Regions from separate parts of the Homo sapiens genome. Here regions 1 and 3 are each linked to region 2. Evidence: promoter capture Hi-C in human tissues and cell types (Jung and others, 2019). All regions are on one chromosome and are shown on one strand. Each heading gives the region's core, a stretch centred on a gene start or on the middle of the fragment in contact. The rest is flanking DNA. Distances are from core to core; before and after follow the strand shown. Region 1 overlaps PPARG (peroxisome proliferator activated receptor gamma). Region 2 holds the start of TIMP4 (TIMP metallopeptidase inhibitor 4). Region 3 overlaps PPARG (peroxisome proliferator activated receptor gamma).

What was found. The method cuts DNA at HindIII sites, captures the fragments that hold promoters and counts their contacts. A contact is called where the count stands out against the background at its distance.
Region 1: a fragment that was not itself captured here is called in contact with the fragment with the promoter of TIMP4 in region 2 in 1 of the 25 tissues and cell types used here (liver).
Region 3: a contact is called between a fragment that was not itself captured here and the fragment with the promoter of TIMP4 in region 2, in 4 of the 25 tissues and cell types used here (IMR-90 fibroblasts, mesenchymal stem cells, neural progenitor cells and 1 more).

Annotation. Positions count from the first base shown.
Region 1 is chr3:12,306,658-12,311,258 of GRCh38, forward strand. All of the region lies in intron 1 of PPARG (peroxisome proliferator activated receptor gamma), which reads left to right. Among named protein-coding and RNA genes, the nearest start is that of PPARG, 20 kb to the left of the region's middle. RefSeq lists a silencer at 297-504. The HindIII fragment of the contact is 7,356 bases long and covers 1-4,601 here.
Region 2 is chr3:12,157,527-12,162,432 of GRCh38, forward strand. It overlaps TIMP4 (TIMP metallopeptidase inhibitor 4), which reads right to left and starts at 1,386. Exons shown (of 5, transcript NM_003256.4): 1 at 1,176-1,386. The coding sequence starts at 1,314. It overlaps SYN2 (synapsin II), which reads left to right. Exons shown (of 13, transcript NM_133625.6): 6 at 4,020-4,082; 7 at 4,486-4,628. The HindIII fragment of the contact is 15,405 bases long and covers 1-4,906 here.
Region 3 is chr3:12,342,029-12,346,769 of GRCh38, forward strand. All of the region lies in intron 2 of PPARG (peroxisome proliferator activated receptor gamma), which reads left to right. Among named protein-coding and RNA genes, the nearest start is that of PPARG, 55 kb to the left of the region's middle. RefSeq lists an enhancer at 2,636-3,835. The HindIII fragment of the contact is 6,605 bases long and covers 1-4,741 here.

The DNA of each region.
Region 1 (4,601 bases), core at 511-3,010, 150 kb after region 2:
TTAAACTTTTAGTTGTGTTAATTCACTGCAAATCAGCTTATGTGTCTTGTAAGTAGTAAGCAACTTGAAAGTACCTGTTGTTGCTTATGACAAGATAAATTAGATCACCAAATCTTTATATTTAGTAACTTCATCATCACTTAGAAATCAACCGCTGGGCCGGGCGCGGTGGCTCACGCCTGTAATCCCCCAGCACTTTGGGAGGCCGAGGCTGGTGGATCACGAGGTCAGGAGATCGAGACCATCCTGGCTAACACGGTGTAACCCCATCTCTACTAAAAATACAAAAAATTAGCCGGGCGTGGTGGTGGGCGCCTGTAGTCCCAGCCATTAGGGAGGCTGAGGCAGGAGAATGGCGTGAACCCGGGAGGCAGAGATTGCAGTGAGCCGAGATCGCGCCACTGCACTCCAGCCTGGGCGACAGTGCAAGACTCCGTCTCAAAAAAAAAAAAAAAAAAAATCAACCGCTGTTAGGAAATTCTTTTTTTTTTTTTGTCTCTCTTAAATTCCTCTTAATCTAAATAAAGACATTTTATTTTGTCTCAGGATACAGAGGTCAATTGAATATAGCAAATTTTGTCAGTGTTGTAAAAAATCTGGAGAGGAATGTAAACGGCTCATCTTGTGTCTGGCCTCTAATTGAATCAGTCAGCTATGGTGGGGTTAGGGGACAGATCCGTGTATTTACTTGCATAGGACAAAAATTAGTCATTTGTGAGTGTTCACATACTTCCACCTCTCCCAACCCACCAAAGAGAATTGTAATTTGACAGTACAATAATCCCTTCCCCTACTCTTAAAAAAGTTGATCTTACAAGGTCAGTCCTATGTTTTTATGAAAAAGAATTAGAGAATGAGTAGAAAGGAACTAGTCAAGAAAAGCAGAAGATTTGGGTTGATAGACATAAAGTGCTGGGAATGAGAGGAAGAGAGAGAGATCGTGAAATTCCTGGGCTGGGAATAAAGACTGTGTGTAGGTAGGACAGCCTTTGGTGAAGGAGACACTTTGGAGAGCATGGTGTGTGAAAACACTTAAAGGAAAATTAAAGGGAATTAAGAGGAAATTGAAGGGAAGGAGTATATGAGAAGGGTTGCTTTGTGGTTATAAGCTGAATTTTCTTTAATGTATTTTGAAAGACCCCGGTAAAGAAAGGAATTTCTTTTAATTTTGCAGAGAATGAGGAGTTGTCCAATTAGGTGTTGAATTGTTCTTCCTTGGAACTCTCAAGAGAGGAGTTGTGTTTAGAGATAGATTTGGGAGCTGTAAGCAAGTAGATGTGTTATGAGTCACAGTGCTGAGGGCAAGAATATAAAGAAGAGATGAAGGCCAAGAGGAAACTTAGAGAACACAAAATAGAAAAGCTCAGAAAGCAGGGGTACCAGGAAAAGGGACTAAAATAGTCATCATAAGGTAGGATAATAGGAGGCCGTGCACAGTGACTCACACCTGTAATCCCAGCACTTTGGGAGGCCAAGGCGGGTTAGAGATCAGCATGGACAACATAAGGAGATCTCGCCTCTACAAAAAAATGAAAAATTAGCCAGGTGTGATGGCGCACACATGTAGTCCCAGCTACTTGGGAGGCCGAGGTGAGAGCATCACTTGAGCCTGGGTGGTTGAGGCTACAGTGAACCATGATCACACCACTGTACTCTAACCTGGATGACAGAGCAAGACCCTGTCTCAAAAAAAAAAAAAAAAAAAAAAAAAAAGGGAGAAACTGATTTCAAGGAGCCAAGAAAAGAGACAGATTCAATAGTGGAGGATGGGCAAAATATCAAATGCTGCAGAGGCAGAGACCGTGGTGTGCTGGAGCCACATTGTTAAATTTTCACAATTTTATTGAGCCAATCGTTATGCATGCTATTATTAAAACTTAAATTGAATACAGTTAAACAAATTATATTAAAAATAAAAGTAATAAATACACAAAGCATACCACTTCCTTATTACTTTACATTGCTGAGATGATTCATGCCCATGGTATCTGAGTAGTGGAAATACACTGTAATATTTGTGCTGCTTTTAAATCAGTCATGGTGGGAGTATTTACACCACAAAAATTGGCAAACACTACCAATCAGGGCATTTTTCTCTGCAAAGAGAGCCAGTTAAATATTTACCAGCATGCCACTGAGAAAATAGAATTGAAGTCAAGAAAAGTCTAATGGATTTAGCAAGAAGGAGATGACATATACTTAAGTTTCAGTAGAAAGGTAGGTGACAAAAACCACAGTAAAGTGGGTTGAGGAGTGAAATAATAAAAAATTAAAAACATGTGTTCAAGTAAGTTTGAGAACCATTGAATTAAACCGAGAAGCAGATTGTTATTGTTGATGATGGTTTTGTTTTTTAAATTACAAGGTTTGCAGAGTACATACTATGCTAATGTACTTTATTAATCTCCAAAAATGAAGACCATATGCAAATTTATTTTATGGTAGAACCTTTTCTGTTGGAAAATCTTAGGGAACAAGTTATCTATAGAATACATTTTGGGAAATGCTGCTCTTGTATTTCACAATTAAGATGATACTGATTGTAAAGTTTGAGATTAATATTCTTGTTTTTAAAGTTTCATGCTTTTTAAAAGAAATTTTGTCAAGAATGGATGTTGAATTTTACTGAGTACTGTTTTTGTCGTTTTTGTAGTAATCATACGGTTTTTTGACCTAGTGCTGTGACACATTTTAATAGATTTTCAAATATTAAATCCTCTTTGCCTTTCTGAGATAAATGTAACTTGATTATGGTGGTTCATTATTTTAATAGAGGATTTAATTTGTTAATTAACATTTTATTTATTATTTAAAATCAATATTGATAAGTGGGACTGATATTTTTCTCTGTTGTCAGGTTTTAATATCAGTGTTATGACACTCCAGAAAAGTTAATTATGTCACTATATTTTTTCCTACTGAGAAACAGCTTATGTAGTAAGAAAATCATCTCTTCCTTGAAAGCTTTAAAAAATCAACTATAAAACTAATAGCTTTTGGAGGAAGTAATTCTTTGATAAGTTTTCAATTATTTCCATTGTTAATTATTTTTCTGTATCTTAAGTCAACTTCACCATTTATTTCATTTCAGACAAGTTAGTCTGAGTAAACTGCCCTTGGCCTGCCTTATTATTTACTTAGGTTCTGGTAAAAATCCCATCCCAGATGTAAAATCATTGTGTGAGTAGAGATGAACAGCCCCTGTCTAACGTGGGCTGTGTTTAAGTGTGAGGCAATTGTCTGCTGTCTTCACAGCCCAGTTCTCTGGCTTCTAGGGATGATGGGTAGGGTGTTTATAATCGAATGAATATAAACTAATCTTGAGTTAAATGACCAGATGGCAGAGGTGAAAGAACGGCAATCCTTGGTGTCTACTCCCCCCAGAATGGATCTTGTCTCTGCCCTACTGTGTTTCACATCTGGGGACGATTCCTTCTAAGATACAGTGCAGTTCTGAATGGGTTCAGAAGGAAGAGGACTGGTAGCAGGAGGGGGTCTGGGGGAAAGGTTACCTAAATCTGCCTGACTCTGACAGTAGTAAGAACCAGCCAAGTGTTCTGTTTGATCCGACACTTGGGGCTACACACTAAGAATAGATACCAGTTTCTAGAAATCTTTACTTTTTGCCCATCTACTTCTGAAGAAATACCTATGTATTTCAAAGGAAAATTGGCACAAGTATCAAGGAAAGCTGGTACAACTTAATCTTAACCTGGAATCAACTCCTTTAATTTTTACATACAGATTTGGTTCCGTTTTTTAGATTAAAATTTTTACCTTTGTTTTCACGTATTTGAGCCCTTTTTTTTTTTTTTTTTTTTTTTGAGACAGAGTCTCGCTCTGTCGCCCAGGCTGGAGTGCAGTGGCGGGATCTCGGCTCACTGCAAGCTCCGCCTCCTGGGTTCACGCCATTCTCCTGCCTCAGCCTCCCAAGTAGCTGGGACTACAGGCGCCCGCCACTACGCCCGGCTAATTTTTTGTATTTTTAGTAGAGACGGGGTTTCACCATTTTAGCCGGGATGGTCTCGATCTCCAGACCTCGTGATCCGCCCGCCTCGGCCTCCCAAAGTGCTGGGATTACAGGCGTGAGCCACCGTGCCCGGCCGAGCCCTTTTTAATAGTTGCCTTAAATGTAAAAAAAAAAAAAAAAAAAAAAAAAAAAAAAAACCCAAGTGGTAATCTGTCATAGATAAAGTGTTTCTCATCTCTCATGTGTTTTGCCTGTTGTGTGTAATGAGCGGTTTCGCTGTGGGTGCTCCTTTCATTTCTGGCTAACACATTAGAGTGTGTTTATGTAAATTGCTGTGATACTGGTCAGCAGTCACAGCCAGAAAACATAAAACATGTGGGCATTACACACTGACACATTAGCTCTTTCTAAAGAAGAACATGTCCCATTCTGAAAAGAAAATTATTGCTTTGTTTTTGATATTGAGTCTGTATTAAAATTTTTTTTTTATTTTTGAGACAGGGTCTCACTCTGTTGCCCAGGCTGGAGTGCAGTGGTGTGATCATAGCTCACTGCAGCCTTGAACTCTGGGACTCAAGAGTTCCTCCTGCCTCAGCCTCTTGAGTAGCTGGGACTACAGGCACATGCCACC
Region 2 (4,906 bases), core at 136-2,635:
GCAATACACCTGAGGTCTGGATGATCCAGGGTCCATGAAGAAGTCTATAGGGCAGTTCTTGGTTTTGGTGTGGCTGGGTTGTGAGCAACGTGATGTGTGAGAAGGGGGACCTGGAAACACCTCCCCTGCAGTCACTGGAAGTTCCAAACCCCTCAGGCTTATTAGGTCCTATAACCGCTAAGCTGTTTCTGCCTTTTGAACCAGTTAGTCTGGAGAGCTCTAGTTCTCCATAGCCGTTTGTGCAGTGGGGCACAGGGTAGGAGTCAGAGTAGAGAAGGGAGGAGGAGCCCCTTCAGGGCAGTCGGTGTGAAGTTTATCTATTGCTGTGGTCAAGGCCTCTCATCCCGCCTACAGTTGATATTAGTAAATGTTTATTGAATTCATAAATGTTCTGACCCTGCACTGAGGTATTGCATCTCTTGCCATTTGAGCATTAATAACCAAAAACTGTTGATGATGTTCTTCCTCTGTGCCTGGCCTTGCACTAGGCACTAGGCCCATAGATGTGATTAAGACAGGGTCCCCATCCTGCCGAGCTCTTGATCTAGTGGAGTGCACACGTGTAAAGAACAACAGCACAGCATAGTAGGAGCGCTAAGACGGTTAGAGATGCTGAGGCGGCACCAAGGAGCCCGGGAGCCTGCAGAGAAGGGGAGAGACCTAAGTTAGCCCTTGAAGGATGAGTAGGAGTCTGCCAGGAATTTAAGGGTGTGAGGGAGGGCATTCCAGGCAGAGGGAAGAGAAAGGACAGAACGTGTGTGTTGCCATAGGGGCTTGGTGGCAACCTCAGTTATAGGCCTGGACAGACACGGGTAGTTACAATGCAAGCCCTCTCCCCTCCCCTTTCTGTCCCCAGTCTAGTAGTTCAGAATAATCATCAGATAGCTCCGGTGACACCTTGTGTAATGACACTCCATAATTGCAGTATGGCCGGAGTGAGGGAGGTCGCTATGGAAGTCCCTGATGAAATCTTCATTTCCTTATGAATCAGTCAGGTTCTGGGCTTGCAAGGTTGCTATGGCGCCTGGTCCTTCTCCACCCATCAGCCTCAGCAAGAGACAACCGGTAAGAATTTGAGCTCCTCCCTTTTCCTCTGGACTCCTGGTGTACTGCTGGCCAGATACTAATCCCCCACAACCACCCCCTGCTGTGGACCTCGCGGACCTCGGACTCACCAAGTGCCGAGTGGCAGATGTGCTGCTGAGGGTGCGCCGGGGCGCAGCTGCATGCCTCACCCAGCCCCGGGGGCCGCAGCAACGCCAGCAGCCGCAGCAACAGCACCCAGCTTGGCGCGGGCCGAGGGCTCCCAGGCATGACACTGCAGATCCGCGACTGAGCCTGTGAGGTCTGGGGGACTGGACGGCCCCAGCAGGGCTCCTTCCCAAGGCCGTTGTGCCCCTCGCCCCAGGCTTTATGAGGTGGCCCTAAGGGCCAATCCCGCCCCGACGGGCTCCGCCTTCCTTTGGCTCTAGGCCACCCGCGGAGGCAGGACCCGAGGCTCTTCCGACCTGCATACTCAGTAAGATGCAGAGGGAAGCCTGGAAGGAGGCCCTGACCTCTGTTTCCCTGCCTAAGTCATGAAGCGATCTGGAAGCAGAGGGGAAGCACTGGGAGAGGGGATGGTGTCAAGGGCAGAAAGACGGAAAGAGCCACAAAGACAAATGCATGAGGACAGAAAAACTGAGGGCTGTGATTCAGGCAGAAAGAACAAGAGTGAGGAGAGGCACAGACAGAAAGAGTGAGACAGGCAGAGTCCCAGAGAGGCAGACAGAATTACAACAGGCAAAAGAGACAGTGACAGAGAAGGACGGACCCCTTGCTGAGCTGCACGCTGGGAATGAGACGAGCTACTCAGGGCTTCTTTCAGCTGCAGGAAGTGCTTTCAATGCCCTATTTATGAGGCTCCAAAGCAACAGCAAACAGTAATAGAACAGGACAGAGAAAGTTGGGGTGTGTGTGTCTTGGCTCTGTTGCCTGGGGGGTGGGGAGAGATGTCAAAGAAGCAGCCAGTGCTTTAGAAACCCTTTCTCACTCCCAGAGCCTCAGACTCTCCAGATAGCTGGAGACAGCGCTCTTGGTGTACAAAACACAAAGTGTCCCATCACTTAGGGCAAACCTTGGACCTCAAAGCCCTCTCGAGGCCCTAGACTACATTGATTTTTATTGCATGTCCCTTCTCACTGGAGACTCTGTCATGTTCTAGAAGGTGGGACAGCTTAGAAAACAAAGAAGCAGGCTGGGCGTGGTGGCTCACGCCTGTAATCTCAGCACTTTGGGAAGCCAAGGCGGGTTGATCACCTGAGGTCAGGAGTTCGAGATCACCCTAGCCATCATGATGAAACTCCGTCCCTACTAAAAATACAAAAGTTAGCCGGGCGTGGTGGCCTACACCTGTAGTCCCAGGTACTCAGGAGGCTGAGGCAAGAGAATGGCTTGAACCCAGGAGGCGGAGGTTGAAGTGAGCTGAGACTGTGCCACTGCACTCCAGTCTGGGCGACAGAGTGAGACTCCGTCTCAAAAAAAAAAAAAAAAAAAAAAAAGTAAAAGAAAAAACAAAGAAGCAGGGGACTTGGGGGTGACTGTGACCAGAGCCTTGTCTGCTGTTTGGGCACAGTGTTGCAAGCCTCCAAATCCCAAATCTCCATGGGATTATTGCTGTGGGATGTTTCCACATGGTGCTGGACTGGATAGTGGGAGGCTGGGTTCCAATTCTGACTGTCACTGTAGCTTTGTGACTTTTGCCTCTCTGGGCCTCAGTTTTTTCTTCATAAAGTAGAGTTGAACTACGTGATTTCTAAAGCCCTTTGAAGTTCTTCTTCCCATCCTTGGCTGGCCTCAACCAGGAATGCTGAGATCCTCAGGCCAGATACCCCCAGTATCTGTTCAAATCTTAGTTCCCATAGGAGTCTGACTTTTCATCAGGGTCAACATTATTTCCTTCAAAGGATACCTTTTCATTTTGATGGTGTTAGTGATATTTGAAAAGAAGGGAATTGAAAGAGAGCTGAGTCTGACTGAAAGATGAAATGCCCGGGTTAGCATCCAGGCTGGTTCTTCATACAATGTTCAGACCAAGATAGAGGCTGATGTACTATTTGAAGGGAGCTCAGAAAGCATCCCATCTGATCTCTTCATTGGACAGATGTGAAGGCTGAGGCCCAGTGAGATACAGTGACTTGTAGAAAGTCCGTGGCAGAAGAGGACTAGAGTACTCGTCTCCTGACATCTAGCCCAGTGCTCCTTCCACTCCACAATATTACTTCTTACATCACCATTTTGTAGCAGCTTGAAATCTTGCCCTTAGAGGATAATCCTTCTTTTAAGGTTTTGTTGCTCCTCTGTTAAAGTATGGCTACCTCAGTGTAGAGTTCGCTCCCCTAAGGATCTCTCTGCATTTATAAACATACTGAATTCTTCTACCGGCTCTCTTTCAAACCCCAAGCTGGGAAGAAATGGGCCTTCACATGCAAAGCCTTGTTTGGTGGTGAGATTGGGGTATTGGTGAGCAGTGAAGAGTGTGAAAGAGGGAGAAAACAACCAGGATCATTACAGGAAAGCTGGGCCTTTGAAGGTTGTAGGTACCAAGAGGGTACATGCTGACAGGGACATCAAGATGCCAAAGATGTGTTTTTAAAATAAAAATACAGGTTTATTAAAGTACATCTACATATAGTAAAGTTCACTCTTTCAGAGATACTTTCTTTTTTTAATTCTCTTTGTCTGAGGGCCAGTCCTGCCCAGGTTTTGTCTAATGCAGAGAAAATTGACAGTGCATTTTAAAGATGTAGGGTATACCAAATAAGAGTACAGGGTTCTTGTAGCACTGCCACTAATATGCTCTGTGACCCTGGGAACTCACTGTCATTCCATGGGTCTCAGTTTTTTAATCTGTAAAGCAAGTAGATTGGACTAGTTCTTTAAAGAACCCTCCCAAGGGTATTCCCAAGAAAAATATGTGTAGGATTCCACGGAGAGATGGGCACACTCTGACAGTTTATTCATTTCTCTTCTGATTTCAGCTGACACTGCCCACGTTCCCTGTGGTGGTGAAGATTGGCCACGCTCACTCAGGCATGGGCAAGGTGAGGCAGAGAGGCCTGCTGTGCTTCAGGGTTGAACCAAGAAGGGCAGTTTTCAGAGCGCCCATTTGTGAACTGCTATTCTCCCTCTGTCACTGATGAATTCTTTCCAAAGAGAAGATGATTTGCCACCTCTAAAGCCATGAGTGTCACCCAACCAGACCTCTTTCAGTAAGCAGAATGCAAGCCACCTGCTTGGTCCTCTGGGTCCTTTGCAGCAAGTGTGGCCCTTGAGTTCTGGGAAGGGAAGCTAGGGAGAAGGGGCCTCCTGGGGAGATGTGGCACCCAGATTAGTGTCTGGATCGGATACATATTGGTGGGTTTGGAGGCTCAGGGCCCTTGTGACTTCTCAGTGTGTGTATGTGTGTGTCTCCCTTTCCCCCTTTCTGCCCTGCTCTAACATTAGGTCAAAGTGGAAAACCACTACGACTTCCAGGACATTGCCAGCGTGGTGGCTCTCACCCAGACCTATGCCACTGCAGAGCCTTTCATTGACTCCAAGTATGACATCCGGGTCCAGAAGATTGGCAACAACTACAAGGCTTACATGTGAGTAAGAGTGGGGTATGTTTTCTCCTCAGTGATGATGGAAAAGCTGAGCCTCCACATTGCAGCCAACTCTCAGATAACAGAGAGGGTGCCACTTAAGTCAGAGATTTTTTTACCTGGGTTCCTTTTAAGTCAGAGGAGGGGTCTGTGGACTAAGATGAGAAAATATATTAATATTCATTTTCACTTGCCTCTAAGGGAAATTTAGCTTTCTCTTCATTTTGAACAGAGACGACAGACTACATTAGTTACCTGTACATAGGAGTTTGTCACTAAAG
Region 3 (4,741 bases), core at 1,454-3,953, 190 kb after region 2:
GAGACATATCACCATTCTAACTTAGTGGTAGATTTTACCATGGCTGATGGTCAGTCATATATTTTGCCTTCTGATGTGATGGAATAGGAAGTACACATCCCCTATGGTATATTCAAGCCTAAAATGTTTAACTTGAATCCAGAAATCCTTGGATATAGTGTCCAGTTTATAAGAAACACAGGGGATGGAGAATCAAGCTAAATGATACAACAAGAAAACAACCAGACAAATTCAGAGGTTGAGACATTCTATCTGATAACTGGCCTGACCTCTTCAATTAGTCAGTGGCCTTAAAATTAAGGGGAAGGAGTAGTCATGCTAGATTTAAAACAGCTTAGGAACATACAGCCAAATGCATTTCATCATACTGGATTAGATTAGGGTTGGAGCAAACCAACTATAAAGAACATTTGGGGTCAGCTGGGGAAATGTGACTATGGGCTGGGTATTGTTTGAAATGAAAATGTAATTAAATGAAAAGATGGAGATTATTGACTTGAAAAAGCAGAGGACTACCAGGAAGTACCATATCTCATTTTGATTAAAAAATACACATGCTGTATGTATGTGTATATGTGTATGTGCTTATGTATCTGTATATACATATGATCATACATATGCCCAGAAAAAGACCCAGATGCATAAACTTTAAGAGTTCAACATTGGTTATATCTGGTAGTGGAAGTATAATCATTTTGTTTTTACCAGTCTGTATTTTCTAATTTTTAACAATGAACGCGGATTGGTTCTATAATAATGAAAGGTGGTTTTTTTTTTTTAAACAAAAAAACCCCTACCTTTTCAGATAGAAAAGCAGCAGTGTATTCTTTCCTTCAAGGAAAATGAAAATGTTTCCTTGGAGGAAAGAAGATATAAAGACTAGAAAACACTCTAGTATCTTTAAAAACCACCAAGCTTTCAAATACAAAGATTTAACATATGTAAACTGTATTGTACTTCATTTGAAATTCAGTATCTTTACTAAAGAGATTTCTTTTATCCTATCCTACACACGTACAGTATTATTTAATGATGTGCACACAGAACTCTGCCAGCCTGAAACAGTAGGTCTAAGACACGTTTGTTGTTTTTGGCTCCCCTGTGTTGATCTAAATCACTGCCTAGTAGCCCTTGGAAATTTCTATCCCAAAACGTCCCACAGGTGCCCAATACCATGGATTCTCATTCCCCAAGTTCATTCTCACTCTTCTCTCTTGGTTGAGTCTTGCCTTTCTTCACTCTGTTCCCTTTCCTTGTTCCTGCCATCCAAAGCTTCTCTGTCTTTCAGGCTCATCTCAGATTTCCTCTCTTTCCTGAAGGCTTTTTGGATTCCTTCCATCTCCATGCACAGTCAGAAGGGCTCTGTTCATCTCTGAATATCTTTCGCACTCCATTGCATCTGGTTTAAATCCCTTCTCTGCCTCTTATTAGCTATGTGATCTCAAAACTCAATTTCTTTATCTGTAAAATGGTGATAATAAATGACTTCGCAGGGTTGAGGGCCTCAAGTCAGTGGCGAGTACTGCAGTAGAGGCAGAATACATAGCTCAACAGAAATTACTCTAGTAATGGTCATGATTGTTTGCACTTCTCTCAAACCACCTACTCGTATATTAGAGTGCATTGTGCTTGTCTTATCCTCTTTACTAAAAGTAGGAAAATGGCTTGAGAATTGATGCTCAGTCTTATTTATATTATTCTATCCCTAGTTATGTGATACTTAACTGTATTGCTCGGTATTTAGCAGCCCATTATCTAATCATAACATCACCCTCATTCTTTCTGAGCTTGTTTCCTTTTTGTGAAATGGGGCTACCATTCAATCTCACCGAATTTTTTTTTTTTTTTTTGAGACAGAATCTTGCTCTATCACCCAGGCTGGAGTGCAGTGGGGCAAACTCGGCTCACTACAACCTCTGCCTCCCAAGTTCAAGTACTTATCGTGCCTCAGCCTCCTGAGTACCTGGGAATACAAGCATGTGCCATCACACCCAGCTCATTTTTGTATTTTTGGTAGAGACAGGGTTTCGCCATGTTGGCCAGGCTGGTCTCAAACTCCTGACCTCAGGTGATCCACCCACCTCGGCTTCCCAAAGTCCTGGGATTACAGGTGTGAGCCACCACGCCCAGCCAATCTCACAGAATTTTTATAAAGTCTAGACAAATTTTTATTTTAAAAGACTTAGCACAGCCCCTGACAGCGTAGGCACTCAATAAATGTGGAATCTGAATCTTACTTAAAGCTAGTTTATATTTTCAAGTCTTCTTACTTTTACTAATGCTGCTTTAAGATATATTCTATAAGTTCAAATGTAAAGTTCTAGATTGGGAAAGAATTTATAATGTGTCTAATAAAGATTGTTAGAGACAAACTTTTAGACTGAACCATCTACTATTAATGGACTGATGAATCTTACCGGAAAATAAACATAAAATATACTCTGTGTTGCCTGTGGTTTAATTGCCATCAAAATTAAGTTTATTATGTACTGATTTCACAGTTACATTTTATTTTCAGTCAAATATCTATTTGTTGGTGTGAAGAAAATATGTCTACTTCCGCTAAGTGAACTTTAAAAATTTGTACTTGCTTTTGAAGATTCCATACTCTATATACCGTCTCTTCCTGAAGCGTATTTATGTAGCTCCTGTTAACATAAGAGCGATAAGAGTGTTGCTTGATGACTGCTCTTATTGCTTTATTAAAGTGTCATGTAAGATTTAAATATTTGATTATAAGAATTCATAATATAATTTTGAAAGCCTACTCTGTTCCAGACGCTGATTTATTTAAATCATCTCTAATTCTCACAACTCCGAAAAGATAAGAAAACAGAGATGTGACAAGGCTTGAATGCAAACCCAGGTCTGTTTGACTCTTTGTTCATTTTGAATAAAGACAAATTACTCAAAGCTTTACTGCCAAAAACTATTATCTGGTTCCACATTGAAACCCTATTCAATAGTTGTTATTATTTTCTTCTTTTGCTTTGAATAACCTCCCAGCATTGTTGTGAGTTTCAAACGAAATAAAAACACTATACAGATCCAAGGTGTTTTTTTTTAGAGTATTGTTACCTCAAAGTAGAAATTTTCAAATAGTAATGTTATCATTTTCTTAAGAGCAAGGAACTTTGTCAATAGAAACAAAAACATCATACCAGAAGAACCCCAGAATGCTGGGATGACTCATGAAGAATCTGTGAATGAGGCAAGAGAACATTCGTCAGCAAAATGACTCCGTGAACTGATGTTCAAATATTATCAAATTTTAATTACCGAGTCATAATTGAGTACTTACTTTGTAGAGAGCACCATATCTAAACCCTGTGGTGAATGATGACATTTTCATAGGTAATTCCTCCACATTAAGTGATTCATCATAGAAAAATGCTTTCATGCTGATGACTTCCACCATGACTGTTGGCATTAAGGATCATTGACCTGAAGAACTGATTTGAACGTCTTACTGCATCATTTTAATGAGATAGAGCATCGTTTGGAGCTTTGGACTGGGAATCAAGAAACCTGGTTTCTAGCTCAAACTCTGCTGCTAATTTATCTAGGTCATGCTTTGGGCAAATCATTTCATTCCTCTGGAACCCATTTTCCTTATATCAAAAATTAAGAGTTGGAATATGCTAATCTCCCTCCTATTAAGTTTCGTGAGCCCGTGATTTCAACAGTACGTAAATTTCCTTTAGTACAGTCACAGAACTGGTAAGTGACACCAGCTGAAACTGAGTGCAGCTCCGCGGCTCTACGCTTGCTGTAGAACCTTTGTGAATTCCCACTGTGCTTCACCAGTGACAGGATGTGCTACCCAATAAATCTCCATATAACTGATCTTGAAAAATTCATTGATAAAATCTGAAAACTGAAAAAGATACATGTTTTAGAGGTTTAGGTTTCCCACAACATGAAAATGTGTCAGTTGATAATATAGTTCATGGTATTTTACTATGCTAGAAAACAGCTTACTAGAGAATTTCAGATATTACATGCAACGACAAGTTAACATAGTTTAGGTGGGACGTCTTTGGTTCAAAGTTACAGTAATTTCAAAAGTGTTTAGTTGATCCCTAGAAAGTGGTTAAACAGGTTAGTCTCTTTTTCAGGTATTAGAGGGAAGTTAACTTTTGAAGCTGGGCAGAAAAGGAAGTTTTCAGTTGGTTTTTTCCTTTTGAGACTTTTAATTTATCATCAGACACTATTTTTTCAGATGAAAGTGCCTTTTATACTGTCACCTAGGTATGAGTCAAGTATGAAAAGGAAATAGTAACTCAGGATCAGAACATGAATAAGTATGCAATATGGAGAATTTCCATTAAATTTTAAATAAATGAATTACAGTCATATTATTCAGTATCTCAACATTAAAACTCAAAAAGACCTTAAGGATTATTCTGTTTTGTGGAAAGGGCTTTTTCTGATTCTAGAGATGAGAAATGTGGACCCAAAGAGTTGACACAGTAGGTTTGTGGCTGAGCCAAGACAAAAACGTAAAACCTAGGCTTTCTGGCTCCAATGTCAGTGTTCTTTTCTACTGCTTCTGAGTTAAGAAGACCTTTTTTTTTTTGATACCAAAGATACATTTACTGGAGTTATTGGCTTCTTTTTTTTTAAGACAGGGTCTCACTCTGTCACCCAGGCTAGAGTGCAGTGATGCGATTACAGCTCACTGCAGCCTCGGTCTCCTGGGCTCAAGCATCCCTCCTGCCTCAGCCTCTCAAGTAGCTGA